2 separate regions of the Homo sapiens genome follow, and region 1 is linked to region 2. The links are contacts of gene promoters, found by promoter capture Hi-C in human tissues and cell types (Jung and others, 2019). All regions are on one chromosome and are shown on one strand. The core of a region is centred on a gene start or on the middle of the fragment in contact, and the rest is flanking DNA. Distances in the headings are between cores, read along the strand shown.

Region 1 (7,610 bases), core at 239-2,738, 200 kb after region 2:
GGAGGAGATAGGTTAGTTGAGGTGACAAGCCAGGGGCTTTTTGCAGGACCTTAACTCGCAGACAACAAGCCCAGGTAGCAAATCCAACGTCGAGGGCCGATTGACTGAATGGGCACTGTCATCCGTCAAGTTATTTTAAATACGAGAGCGATTTAATTTATATTCATTCACCTCATGAAGCAGGGCTTTGCCATTCCCTCCAAATATCCAGGCAGTCCCTTGCACCTAGAGGAGAACCCCTTCCTGAACCCTCCGCCTTTCTGATCTTGGAGGGAGGGAAGGCAGCTTCCACCAACCCGGCAGCACTGACCCGGCAGAAGCAGCCTGGGCCGGGGTTGGGGAGGAGAAGCCCCGCTCGCTTGCGCGCCGGATGGGTGGAATTTGGCACTGGCTCAAGCGGGTTATCCCAGTCTCAGCTGAAGCCGAAGTTATCAGTACACTTTTGGCCTTTTCGCTGGAAACCAGGTTAGCACAGGTTGTTACCTCTGATTGTAACGTGAGAAACAGAGACGTCTCTTTCTCTACTGCCGTGTTTAGACAACAAAGGATGATCTTTACACGAGTTTTAAAAATAGAACCATGGAACCACTCCCCTCCCCACCCGCCTTGTGTGAGCTCATTAAAACCACACCTAATCTTCTGGGAACTGCATTATTAGCCTTACTTCCTACACAGAAGTCTCCCAAATATAGCTGCATTTTAGGGAGCTGGTGAAATGGCTGGTCTAGCAGGGTTCTCTCTTGCTTCTGGCTTAATCCAGAGCAGGTTCATCTGTTGGGGTAAATTAGAAGGTTTTACTTGAAAACGTATGTAGAGTTTTTAACAAGGAGGCCAAAAGGGAGAGAGCAACTGAAAAGAAAGAAAAAGTCTGTGGACTCCCTGTATGTATGTATGTATGTATGTATGTATGTATGTATGTATGTATGATGTATTTGAGACAGGTTCTGGATCTGTCGCCCTGGCTGGACTGCAGTGGGGCGATCTCAGCTCACTGCAACCTCCACCTCCCTGGCTCAAGTGATCCTCCCACCTCAGCCTCCCAGATAGCTGGAACTACAGGCGCATGCCACCACACCCGGCTAATTTTTGTATTTTGGGTAGCGTTAGAGACGGGGTTTTGCCATGTTGCCCAGGCTGGTCTCAAATTTCTGAGCTCAAGCGATCTGCCCGCCTCAGCCTCCCAAAGTACTGGGATTACAGGCGTGAGCCACCTTGCCTAGACTCCTTGCATTTTTCTGGTCTGGCTTTTTGTTTTTTATGCAGGCTTACAAAAACAATCCTGCTCTTCTAGGGGCGAGCTAAGTGAGTTTTAAACCTACCAATGAGAAGTCCCTTGAGCCACAGTGCACACAACCATAGGGGGTTATTCTGGAAGTGATCCTAAAGCACATTACGAAACAGCTCTCTAGAAGCTGTTTGAAGCAAGCAAAATGCATTTGCAAATAAGGCTGTAACCGATTGCAGTTTACCTGAAGAAGCTTGCTCCATCTCATAGGTTGGGACATTAATGGGTTTGTAATTTGTAGTTTGGAAATCCAAATTATTTTACTCACAGAAAGAAAATTATTAACAATGGGTAGGTAACCCTGTTGGCCCATTAACCGATGTAACCACAATTGTGCTCTAGACTAATTAATATGATATGGGGCATTGTTTCTCAGTTTTTTATATTCATAAAATATGGAATTTTGTGAATAAAATAACTGCAATAAATTGGGAGCATAGCTATAGGTCACTTGGCGAAAATATGTTGTTTTTTGTTAAAAAAAAACAATAAAATACAAAGTATTGAAAGTAGATAATTTGAATAAAGCTTTAAATGAGATATTTTTAAAGTTAAGAGGAACTTGAGCCTGATTTCATGATCATAACTTTTTCTTTATGGTTTCATGTTGAAACAGCTATACAGATTAAGAGTTTCAACAACAACTTCTTTATACTTTTGATAATAACTTTCAGGTGAGAAGCTGTACAGACACGTAGGTAATACATTTACAACTATTATTATTGTCTTAAATTGTGAACAATTTGAAATTGGATTCTAAAAATTCAGTATCTCTTTTTTTTTTCATTGATATGTGTAAGTTTCTTATGATAATGTGAGTGGATTTCAGATATAATTGAAGTTTTTCTGGCCGGGTGTGGTGGCTCATGCCTGTAATCCCAACACTTTGGGAGGCGAGGCAGGTGGGAACACCTGAGGTCGGGAGCTTGAGACCAGCCTGACCAACATGGTGAAACCCCATCACTACTAAAAATACAAAAATTAGCCGGGTGTGGTGCCTCATGCCTGTACTCCCAGCTACTTGGGAGGCTGAGGCAGGAGACTCACTTGAACCTGGGAGACAGAGGTTGCAGTGAGCTGAGATCGTGTCATTGTACTTCAGCCTGGGCGACAAGAGTGAAACTCCATTTCAAAAATAAAAAATAAAATAAAAATAATTAAAGTTTTTCTGGTTTTTTTTCCCTTTTCTTTCTTTCTTTTTTTTTTTTTCCAGACACAGTCTCACTCTGTCGCCCAGGCTGGAGTGCAGCGGCACGATCTCAGCTCACTGCAAGATCTGCCTCCCGGGTTCAAGCGATTCTCCTGCCTCAGCCTCCGGAGGAGCTGAGATTACGGGTGCATGCCACCATGCCAGGCTAATTTTTGTATTTTTAGTAGAGATGGGGTTTTGCCGTGTTGGCCAGGCTGGTCTCAAACTCCTGACCTCATGTGATCCACCCACGTCAGCCTCCCAAAGTGCTGAGATTACAGGTGTGAGCCACCACATCTGGCAATTTTTTTTATATTAAGAGTTTCAAGCAGGACATGGTGGCTCACACCTGTAATCCCAGCACTTTTGGAGGCCAGGGGAGGATTTCTTGAGCCCAGGAGTTCAAGACCAGGTTGGGCAACATGGCAAAATCCTCTCTCTACAAAAAAAAAAAAAAAAAAATTTAAAACATTAACTGGCCATGGTGGCACGCACCTGTAGTCCAAGCTACTCGGAAGGCTGAGATGAGGCAGAAATTTAAAAATAAATATGCATTCATTCACTGTAAGAAAAGTAACAGGCACGGCAAAGGTTAAAAAGAAAAGAACAAGTTTCAAGTTTTCCTCTGCCTAGCAAGCTCACTTCAAGAAGAGTTATAAGATAATGCTGTCCAGAAAGCCAAGGACAAAGGAATGGGCTCCAGACAACACCCCCCTCCAGAGAAAGGTTGAAGGAAAAAAAAAAAAAGAAGAAAAAGACAAATTCTTTTACTGTTACTCCTTTCCCTGGTTTCTTAAGCATGATTATGTTTTACAAATCTCTGTATTTAGCCAGTTCTTATTTTTCTTTTGACGCAGCTATAAGGTCACTAGCTAGGCAAGGCCACAAGTTATGCTAAGTCAACAGTTATGCTATAGATTATGTGACCTGTTACTGTATGATTAATTGCTTTTGTTTGGCTTTTGTAGGTTTGCTTATAAAAACCCCACTCAGTCTTTGTTCAATGCTCAGCTTTTTGGATGCGAATCCACTGAGCTGGTGCATACCTAAAATAAACAATCCTCCTGTTCTCCATATCAGTCTCTCTGGTCCTCAGTTTCTTGAGCCCAGGATGTTGAGGCTGCAGTGAGCTATGATCATGTCACTGTGCTGCAGCCTAAGTGACAGAGTGAGACTCTGTCTCAAAAAAAAAAAAAAAAAGAGGGGCGGGATTTTCAAAATGACAAAGTAACATGCAGAAAATGCATGCATCCTTAGAGCAGTTACCTTGGATACCACTGAAAAGGCACATCGGCCCAAAGAATGAAGTATCCAACGGAGGTAGACATTTAGGGTTGCCTTTTCCACTGTGGGAACGAACAGCTCCACCCCATGCCCCACCTCTGCCACTGACTGCTCCTTGGACTATGGCCATCTGCTCCAATACCTAAAACATAAACTCCTTCCTCTAACACAGGCTAGGCCCTCTATTCATGACCATGCAGTCATGAGAACCTGTTCAGCCTCACTTAGCATCTTGAGGTGGAGCAGAGCCATCCATCAGACCTGTGGGGACCACAGGGTGCTTCATTAGATTCTGCTGTCCCCCAGCAGCCCTCTAAGACAACCCAGGTGAGATTGGAAAGACACCAGGCCCTAGAGCCACAGGCCCACCTGCCTGCCTTAAGCAATAGAGATGAGTATCTATAATGCATTCATGGTACAGCAATAGGCAAGACTATGCCCTCAGCTCTTACAACCCTCTTCCCTTCCCATCCACCTTAGGACTATGGGGGAGGAATGCAGACAAGGTTGAAAGGGACAGTCTTCTCCATCCTCCTCCTTCCGTTTTCCTTCTCCTCCCCTTTGGGAGGTAGCTCACCAGCTTTTGCCTTTCCTGTGTAAAGTGAAAATAGCAACTGAGCAAGGGAAATGGGGCCCCAGGCAGAGATGAGGTCCTCCCGTGGGGGAAGGGGAGAGAAGTCCCCGGTAACCCTGGGAAGGGAAGGGGAGTTCCTAAATTCACTCAGCTGTGGCTGTTGTTTATCTTGAAGGCTGGGTGTAAATTGGGCCTGTATATGAACCAAGACCATCTGTTCTCATGTGCAGAAAACTAAAATGTAGGTCTCTCAAAGGGCCTAAATAGCATTATTCTGTATGCTAAATGTTAAGAATTTTATTACTTACTTAGTGTTGTGGCTTCCCCAAATTTGAGGTTCTCGAACTGCACTTTAAAAACAGAACTATTGGTCTGTGCTCCTGTGTTCCACCTCCCAAATGGAAACTCCTTGTGCAGGGTTTCTTGATCATGGCCTTCCGAAATGACCACATGGCATAGGACTGCTAGCACCCAGAACTGTGCAAGACTGTGTCCTCATGCGCATGCAGTAGCTTTCACTTGCCACACTTTTTTTTTTTTTTTTTTTGAGATGGAGCCTTGCTCTGTCATTCAGGCTGGAGTGCAGTGGTGTGATCTCAGCTCACTGCAACCTCTGCCCCTGCAAGGTTCAAGCGATTATCCTGCCTCAGCCTCCCGAGTAGCTGAGATTACAGGCCTGTGCCACCACGCCTGGCTAATTTTTTGTATTTTTAGTAGAGACAGGGTTTCACCAAGTTGGCCAGGTTGGTCTCGAACTCCTGACCTCAAATGATCCACCTGCCTCGGCCTCCCAAAGTGTTAGGATTACAGGCATGAGCCACAACACCCGGCCTCACTTGCTAAACTTTTAAAGGGGGAGAAAGGCTCAGCAATCATGCTCTCTCCAACTCCCTATCTCCTTAAACTGCCTAGGGCTAAATGCTATGGTGTAGCCCCAATTGAGTTGGTGGAGATTTCCCATATGCAACCTTAAGTGCCTCCTCTCACTCCTTTACATATTAACCTCACAGTCCTGTCTCCCCTCAGTACAATGCAGGGCCTGAAAATACTGCACAGTGAAGGCTCTGCCTGTGAAGGGAGGGAACTGCTGTCAACATATTGTTTGGGCAGGGGGAGGAATTGGTTAAATATATATATATATAATCTGATCCCCATCCTGTACATGCAAGTGTAAATGCATAAAAACAGAAAAAAGGGCTGGGCATGGTGGCTCACCCTGTAATCCCACAGTTTGGGAGGCTGAGCTGGGAGAATCACCTGAGCCCAGGAGACCAGCCTGGGCGATATAGTGAGACTCCATCTCTAAAAAAAATTCGTTTTTTAATTAGCCTATGTGGTGGGGGTACCTGTACTCCCATCTAATCAAGAGGTTGAGGTGAGAGGATCGACTGAGCTGAGGAGGTCGAGACTGCAGTGAGCTGTGATCAGGCCACTGCACTCCAGCTTGGGTGACAGAGCAGGACTCTGTCTTTAAAAAAAAAAAAAGAACATGCGTGACCAGGTGCAGTGGCTCATACCTGTAATCCCAGCACGTTGGGAGACCGGGGCGGGCAGATCACTTGAGGTCAGGAGTTTGAGACCAGCCTGGCCAACATGGAAACCCTGTCTTTACTGAAAATATAAAAATTAGCCGGGTGTGGGGGCGTGCACCTGTAATCCCAGCTGCTTGGGAGGCTGAGGCAGGAGAATTGCTTGAACCTGGGAGGCAGAGGTTGCAGTGAGCCAAGATTACACCACTGCATTTCAGTCTGGGCAACAGAATAAGACTCTATCAAATAAAAAAAAATGAACAAAATAAAACTAGAATATTATACCCTTCAAAAATAATTTATTAGTCTTTTTGAAATGGTGTTTTCCCCATGCAATGGTTTGGGAAACGGATTTAAAAGGATGTGGTGTGCTTATCTTCATGTGAGACTTTGTTTTAAGCTGAGCTAAACACATTTTGTTCCTTGACTTTTCCTTTCTTAGTCCCTTTTTGTGCTGCTATAACAAAATACCTGAGCCTAGGTAATTTATAAAGAGGAGAATGTATAAAGAACAGGTCTAGAGGCAGGGAAGTACAAGATCAGGGCACTGGCAGGTTGGGCATATTTGGTTGTCTGGTGAGGGCTGCTCTCCCCTTCCACGATGATGCCTTGTTGCATGATGGATTGTCAAAGGGCTATGGAGCCACTGCTCCCTGAAGCCTCTTTTATAAGGGCTTTAATCCTATTCCCAAAGGAAGAGCCCTCATGGCTTGATCACCTCCTAAAGGTCCCACCTCTTAATCCTGTTGTCAGAAGCTTTTGAACAAGAGCGACTCCATCTTGAATACAGCTGGGTAAAATAAGGCTGAGACCTACTGGGCTGCATTCACAGGTTAGGCATTCTAAGTTCCAGGATGAGATAGGAGGTCGGCACAAGACCTTGCTGATAAAATAGGTTGCAATAATGAAGCTGACCAAAATCCACCAAAACCAAGATGGTGACAAAAGTGACCTCTAGTCGTCCTCACTGCTCATTATATGCAAATTACAATGCATTCACATGTTAAGAGCACCATGTGACCAGCACCGTGACAGTTTACAGATGCCATGGCAATGGCAGGAAGTTATCCTATATGGTCTAAAAAGCGGAGAAACCCTCAGTTATGGAATTGCCCACCCCTTTCCCCGAAAACTCATGAATAATCCACCCCTTGTTTACCATATAATCAAGAAATAACTATAGGTATCCTTCGTTGAGCCCCTGCCCTGCCTATGGAGTAGCCATTCTTTATTCCTTTACTTTTTTTTTTTTTTTTTGAGACAGAGTCTCATCCTCCAGGCTGGGGTGCAGTGACGTGATCTCAATTCACTGCAACCTCTGCCTCCCAGGTTCAAGCGATTCTCATGCCTCAGCCTCCAGAGTAGCTGGGATTACAGGCATGCATCACCATGCCAGGCTAATTTTTGTATTTTTAGTGGAGACAGGTTTCACCATGTTGGCCAGGCTGGTCTTGAACTCCTGACCTCAGGTGATCCGTCCACCTCGACCTCCCAAAGTGCTGGGATTACAGACGTGAGCCACCATGGCCGGCCCCTTTACTTTCTTAATAAACTTGCTTTCACTTTACTCTATGAACTTGTCCCAAATTCTTTCTTGCATGAGATCCAACAACCCTCTTTTGGGGTCTGGACTGGGACCTCTTTCCAGCAACACTATCACATTGGCAACACCTGAATCTTGGAGGGGACATATCCAAACCATAGCAGTTATGCTGCAGTACTAAAAGCAATTGCCAGCAAATTAAGTTT
Region 2 (7,409 bases), core at 1,711-4,210:
AAGTCTGTGTTTAACTTTATAAGAAACTGCCAAACCGTTTTCCAAAGTGACTGTACCACTTTGCATTTCCACCAGTGATAAATGGGAATTCTTACGGTTCTCTGTCTTCATCATCATTTGGTGTCGTCTGATTGATTTTAGCAATTCTAATCAGTGAGAAGTGATATCTAATTGTGGTTTTAATTTATACTTCCCTGGTGACAATGATATTGATCATCTTTTCATATGCTTATTTGTCATTTGGATTTCTTATATGATGAAGCGTCTGCTTAAATCAGTTGCCCATTTTTTAATTGGGTCATATGTTTGCTTATGGTAAAATTTTAAGAGTTCTTTATATATTCTGAATACAAGGCTTTCATCAGACATGTGATTTATAAATATTTCTTCCAGTCTGTAGCTAGTCTTTTCATTCTCTTAACAGTGTCTTTCAAAGAGCAAACATTTTTAATTTTGATCAAGTCCAACTAAACGTTTTTTTTTTCTTTCATGGATTGTGCTTTTGTTGTTGTGTCTAAAATGTTATTGCCAAACCCAAGTCCTGCTGATTTTCTATGTTTACTTATAGAATTTCATAGTTTCATTTTTTACTTTTATGTCTTTGATCCATTTTAGATTAATTTTTATATGAGATATAAGGTATGTATTCTTCAATATGCCTTCTTTTATTTTGTTGGTTTTGAACATGTGTTTTGAGCATAGACAGTCTTATTTTAGTACCATTTGGTGAAAAGAACATCATTTTTCCATTGAATTTAATTAGCATCTTTATAAAAAATGTTGTTGACTAAATATTCATAGATCTATTTCTGGGTTCTCTCTTCTGTTCCACTGGTCTATGGGTCTATCTTCCCACCAATATCATTCTCTCTTGATTACTACAGCTTTATATTGTCTTAAAATCATGTAGAATGAGTCCTTCAATTTTGTTCTTTTTCTGAATAGTTTTGTTTATTGTAGTCCATTTGCCCTTCCGTATAAGTTTTAAGATCATCTTATTGATATTTTCAAAACAATTTTCTGGGATTTTAATTGGAATTCCATTAAATCTATAGATTAAATCTTAACAACATAGAATTTTTAAATTCAGGAACATGGTATTTCTTTTCCACTTAGGTCTTCTTTAGTTTTTCATCTGTCTTACAGTTGTCAGAATATATATCCTGCACAGATTTTGTTAGGTTTACATTTAAGTACGTCATATTCTTGTGTGTGCTGTTGTAAATGATATTTTTTATTTTAGAAGAATCTAAAATATTTTGATTCCTAGTATATAAGAATAGAAATGGCTTTTGTATATTTACTATGTATCCGAAAACTTGCTAAACAAGCATTTTTGAAAAAAAAGACAATCTGTCTCTATTTTCTCATTGACTATAAAATTCCTATTTCAAAGCACTTTGAAAAAGATGTTTGAAGAAAAACCTATGTATTTTCTCGTATTATAGACAATTCACAAGAAAAAGCACACAGGCCAGATGCCGTGGATCATGCCTATAATTTCAGCACTTTGGGAGGTTGAGGCGAGCAGATTGCTTGAGATCAGGAGTTTGAGACCAGTCTGGCAGACATGGTGAAACACCATCTCTACTAAAAATACAAAAATTATCTGGGCGTGGGGGCACATGCCTGTAATACCAGCTACTCGGGAGGCTGAGGCACGAGAATCGCTTCAACCTGCGAGGTGGAGGTTGCAATGAGCCGAGATCACACTACTGAGCTCCAGCCTGGACAACAGAGGGAGACTCTGTCTCAATTAAAAAAAAAAAAAAAGAGAGAGAGAGAGAGAAAAAAGTCCACAAATGGCTTCTGAAGATAAGAAAAGATGCTCAGACAGCTTGAAATAAGGGAAGCTGAAATTGAAACTTTGCTGACAAATTATGTTTCATCTCTAATATTAGCAAATATCTTAACCTTTGGTAATAGGGTATGCTAGCCATCTTCGTCATACAAGCCCACGTGGAAGGCAATTTGGCAATATCTAGCAAAATTACAAAATTACAGTCCTTAACCCAGCAATTCAATTTCCAGGAATGTATCCTACAGATATTCTTGCAAATGTACAAATGACAAATGTACAAGATTACTAATTGTAATATGTTTATCATAGAAGAAAAAAATACCTTAAGTGTGAGTCAATATGGAATTGGCTAAATATGTTATATCTACACAATGTAATACTATATAAACTTAAAACTAGATTTCAACAAGATCTTTGCATTATTTGCAGATGGAATTTAATAAAATACAATAATTAGTTAGGTACAACTAACAACAAACTTATACTGAGATCTACATATTCCAATGAGAATTCATTTCAAATGTGTCATTAAATCTGAACACAGAAATAAATGGACCTTCAAACTAGCTCTTTATTGAGTCACAAAGTGTTAAGCCAAATTTTTAAAAAACAATGAAATCATGTTAATTATACATAAAAATTTTTTATTTCTTTTGTGGCCCTCCTTTGACAATATTTTATTAATTAACAATATAACTATAGCAAAGAAATGTGCTGTTAATTAATTTTTAATGTTAATTTCACCTCTCATTCATTTTCAGATTTTAGTTTTGTGTATGTTGATAATTTATGTAGCATATTAGTACAGAGGTACAGAAGTGTGATTTATAATTTAATATACATCTAAAGAGGATACATGCTTAACTTTATTAATGGAATTTGTGATAAAGTTTGCAGACTGTTGCCTTAGAGAAGAGCTCTCACTTGGACGGGAGGCCCTGGCCAAGTTGTGTAGTGAGGACAGTTGTTGAGAGGAAAAGAGAAAAAACGAGAGGTATTAAGGCCCAGAAGAGAGTTAGCACCTGCTTCAGAACACAAGCGTGCAGGATGATATAGCTTTTAGTGCCAAGAAGTAGAATTCTAGCATCTCTAGGTGGTGAGAAACAAAGGACTAAGAATTTTTCTTTCTCTAACACTCTAAAGAAAGGTTCTTGAGCTAGGAAAGGATTACTCGAGCCTTGTTAGAATCAGACATGGCTTCAGGGGATGCAGGACGCTCCCCTGAGCTGCCTGTCACCGACTAAGTGGAGCAGTGTTTCTTCCGCAGACTCAACTGAGAAGTCAGCCTCTGCGGCAGGCACCAGGAATCTGCCTTTTCAGTAAGACCTAAATTACTCTTATGAAGCCACCTGTCCCTGAGAACCAGCAATGGCAGGTTCTTGAAGGATGTAGAACATGATGCTTGGGGTTATCATTGCTACGGGTTTTGTTTTGACTTGTTTGAGATCAGTTAACATTCTAAGGCAGAGGATGGAAACCAACCTTATTTGTAAGCTCTGCATCTTTTTTTTTTTTTTTGAAACAGGATGTCACTCTGTTGCCCAGGCTGGAGTGCAGTGGCACAATCACAACTCACAACAGCCTCAACCTCCCAGCCTTAAAAGATCCTCCCACCTCAGCCTCCCAAACAGGTGGGACCACAGTCACACACCACTATGCCTGGCTAATTTTTGTGTATTTTGTAGTGACAGAGGTCTACCTTTGTTGCCCAGGCTGGTCTCAAACTCCTGGCTTCAAGCAATTTGCCCTTTTCACCCTCACAAAGTGCTGAGATTACAGGTGTGGGCCACCATGCCCAGCCTAAGCTCTGCATCTTAAACCTCGTTTGTCTGTCCCTCACAGCTTAGCACAATGCTGTACACCACGGACTGGCATGATCTCTCTGAAAAGGGCCAGATAATAATATGTTAGGCTTTGTGGTCTATACAGCCTCTAACACAGCTACTCAACTCTGCCACTGCAGCAGGAAATCAGCCACCAACAATATATTACCAAATGATGAGAGTAGCTATGTTTCAATAAAACTTTACATACAAAAGCGGGCCTGGTTTGCCCACGCTTGCTATTCACGTTTGTAATGTACATGCCCCTCATGCAATGCAGTTCCTTATCTTATTGCTTAGTCACCTTAAAGCCCTGCTTGTTACTCGGTGCGGTGGCCTTGCTGATGACTACTTATCCCTGTTTTGGGCCTAGCCTTTCAATGCAGGAATCCAGCCCCAGGGAGAGAAACTAATGACTAGAGAAGTTTCCAGGCAAGTGCAGAAAATGACACGGGATGAACATATGTAAGAACATCAAGTTCAGGATCCCGAGTAGTTGTCAGAAATTTCACTTCACCCCATCCCAGCAAGGCTGTTGTGTTTGGGGAAGACATTATTTTAAGAGGGGAGGAGATTGTGGAAAATCAGTAGGCAGCAGGAGACAGCGCTCTTGATCCTACTCCCATTTCAGACGATTCTATGGGGGCCTCTTTATTGTCCCTCTGCTCCCCCAGGTGCTTTCCTCCTTTCATGAGGCTTTGTCCTCCATCCCTCTTGCTCCCCAGTCAGGTGCCAGACTTTTAGGAGGCCGCCCGGAGCACTGGTTGTGAAGCTTAGCAAAGCAATGCATTTGCAATCTAAGATAAAACACTAGTACTTTGGAAGCAATGCTCCCACATTTTGAAATGCATCAAGAAAAGAAAAGGAAAGATTAGGTGCTTAATCTTCACCCTTCAATAAACCCCCAAACGATGAATCTTTTTTTTTTTGAGGCGGAGTCTCGCTCTGTCGCCCAGGCTGGAGTGCAGTGGCGCAATCTCCGCTCACTGCAAGCTCAGCCTCCTGGGTTCACGCCATTCTCCTGCCTCAGCCTCCCGAGCAGCTGGGACTACAGACACATGCCACCACACCCGGCTAATTTTTTTGTATTTTTAGTAGAGACGGGGTTTCACCGCATTAGCCAGGATGGTCTTGATCTCCTGACCTCGTGATCCGCCCGTCTCGGCCTCCCAAAGTGCCGGGATTACAGGCGTGAGCCACCGCGCCTGGCCTAGACGATGAATCTTAAAGTTTTCCATTCAGGTCCACGTGTATTTCATCTCTGGCTGAAATGGGGTGTCTGTTTCTACACACCCAGTTGATCCTTGAACAAATGTAGGGGTCGGGGTGCCAATGCCTGCTCAGTTGAAAATCTGCATGTAACTTTTGACTCCCCAGAAGCTTAACGACTAATAGCCTACTGCTGACTGGAAGCCTTACCAATAACATGAACAGCCAATAAACACATATTTTGTACGTTCTATGTCTATACTGGATTCTTACAATAAAGTAAGCTAGAGAAAAGAAAATGTTATTAAGAAAATCATAAGGAAGAGAAGATATATTTACTATTTGTAAATATTAACTATTTGTTAATAGTAAATATTTACTATTATATTATATTTACTATTTGTTAAGTGGAAGTGGATCATCATAAAGGGCTTCATCCTGGTGGTCTTCACACTGAGCAGGCTGAGGTGGAGGAGGAAGAGGAGGGGTTGGTCTTGCTGTCTCGGGGTGGCAGAGGCAGAAGAAAATTCACGGATAAATGGACCCACGCAGTTCAAACCCATGATGTTCAAGGGTCAGCAGTATAGGGAATGTTTCACCCCTGTATTCTATTTTTCATTCATAGAATTAAAATAGAAATCCTAAAAATGCCCCTTGTGGTTTTCACCTGGATGTGTATTAAGGAAGGTTAATTTTTTCACTTACTTAACCCTGAGAACACAGCATTGACTTGAAAGTTACTGTATGGAAAAGCATTAAGGAGACAGCCTGCAGTCACATTCCTTCCCTGGACCGTAGAGTGGCCGGTTTTCCCTGATGGTGGCACTGAATGACCAAAGTGACAGGCAGCATCTAGGCAGGGCTGTGCACAGTCACCGATGCTGGATTTCGAAGTTCCTGAATCAAGATCGTCTGACCTGTTCTCCGGCTCTTTGGCAGGTTCTGTCTCCGGCAGGCTTTGAGGATGAAGGCTGCGGGCATTCTGACCCTCATTGGCTGCCTGGTCACAGGCGCCGAGTCCAAAATCTACACTCGTTGCAAACTGGCAAAAATATTCTCGAGGGCTGGCCTGGACAATTACTGGGGCTTCAGCCTTGGAAACTGTGAGATTATTTCTTTCCTGCTCTCTTTCTGTCCTTGACCTTTCCCCTGAGATGTTGAAGGTCCTGGCTACACTCCCTGCTGTGTCTCCCCAACTACCCCTGCTCTGCCCTCACCACACCCAGGGGTGGCTGCTGGCCTAACTGTGGCTCTCTGGGTCTCCTCTCCTTCCTCCCCTGCCCCTCATTTCCTTATTCCTGGAGTCCTGTCCTTATGACACTAGCCAGGGAAGGGGAAAATAATGCCACCTCTGCTGGCATTGTGGGGAGTGGGGGGACCTGACTGTTGGTCTAGATTAGGCTCAGCCCCTGACTGGGTGTGCAGCTTCAGGTGTGCCATCCCAGCCCCTGATGTGCCCCTCGTGTGCCCCCTGGGCACATGCCCGCCCTGCCCTGCCCAAGGTGTATTGGGAGGAAGCAGTCAGGTAACAGGGATGAGGAAACTTGCCCTTAGACCAAGCTTAGAGCAAAAGATGGCACCTCCTTTGCTGGCGTTTCTGGCTTTCCCCCCTCCAGGGATCTGCATGGCGTATTATGAGAGCGGCTACAACACCACAGCCCAGACGGTCCTGGATGACGGCAGCATCGACTACGGCATCTTCCAGATCAACAGCTTCGCGTGGTGCAGACGCGGAAAGCTGAAGGAGAACAACCACTGCCACGTCGCCTGCTCAGGTGAGGCTCTGACTTTCCAGTGATGCCATCCTCAGGACCAGGTGAGAAAGCCGACAATGGGATCACCAACCATGTCTTGCTTTAACTAAAATTTGGAGTTCAGACTTGCAAATAGGTCTGTTCAAGATTGGTAAATTATGCAACAGTTTCCAAGGTGACACTCAGGATCCTGCGGCTGACTTGTCCAAAGATGACTTATTCCTTGTAGACAGTTTTATGAAGCCCTCCCCTAAAGCAGGGGGATGGACAAACAACCCTACTGTGCTTTCATGTATAGAGATATTTGATGTCTTCAGTAAGAAAAAGGAAGCTGCCTGCCAGCTGCTTTCCATAAGCAATTCACTCAAAGGATGCAGTTTGTACTTCTTTGAGCAGAATGAGATGAATACAATTTACGTTTCTTTCTCTTTTCTCTTTTTTTGAGACAGGGTCTCACTCTGTTGCCCAGGCTGGAGTGTAGTGGTGCGTTCATAGCTCATTGCAGTCTTGACCTCCATGACTCAAGCAACCTTCCCTCCTCTGGGTGGCTGGAACTACAGGCATATGCCCAGCTATTTTTATTTTTGTTTTTTTTTGTAGAGACAGTCTGTCTGTGGGGTCTTGCTATGGGGTTCTCTCCCAGGCTGGTCTTGAACTCCTGGCCTAAGGTGACTGTCTGACTTCACTCTTGTACCTTACATGGCAAAAGGGACTTTGCAGATGTGAGGAAGGATCTGAGCCTGAGCAAGAGAGATTATCCTGGGCAATGTGGGTGGAGCCAATCCAATCTCATGAGTCCTTAGAAGGAGAGAATCTTGTCCA

What was found. The method cuts DNA at HindIII sites, captures the fragments that hold promoters and counts their contacts. A contact is called where the count stands out against the background at its distance.
Region 1: a contact is called between a fragment that was not itself captured here and the fragment with the promoter of LYZL2 in region 2, in 1 of the 25 tissues and cell types used here (mesenchymal stem cells).

What each region holds. Positions count from the first base shown.
Region 1 is chr10:30,424,533-30,432,142 of GRCh38, reverse strand. No RefSeq gene overlaps it. Among named protein-coding and RNA genes, the nearest start is that of MAP3K8, 5.8 kb to the left of the region's middle. RefSeq lists an enhancer at 480-539. The HindIII fragment of the contact is 5,454 bases long and covers 1-4,215 here.
Region 2 is chr10:30,625,304-30,632,712 of GRCh38, reverse strand. It overlaps LYZL2 (lysozyme like 2), which reads left to right and starts at 2,960. Exons shown (of 5, transcript NM_183058.3): 1 at 2,960-3,120; 2 at 5,773-5,936; 3 at 6,450-6,608. The coding sequence starts at 5,798. The HindIII fragment of the contact is 10,435 bases long and covers 1-4,700 here.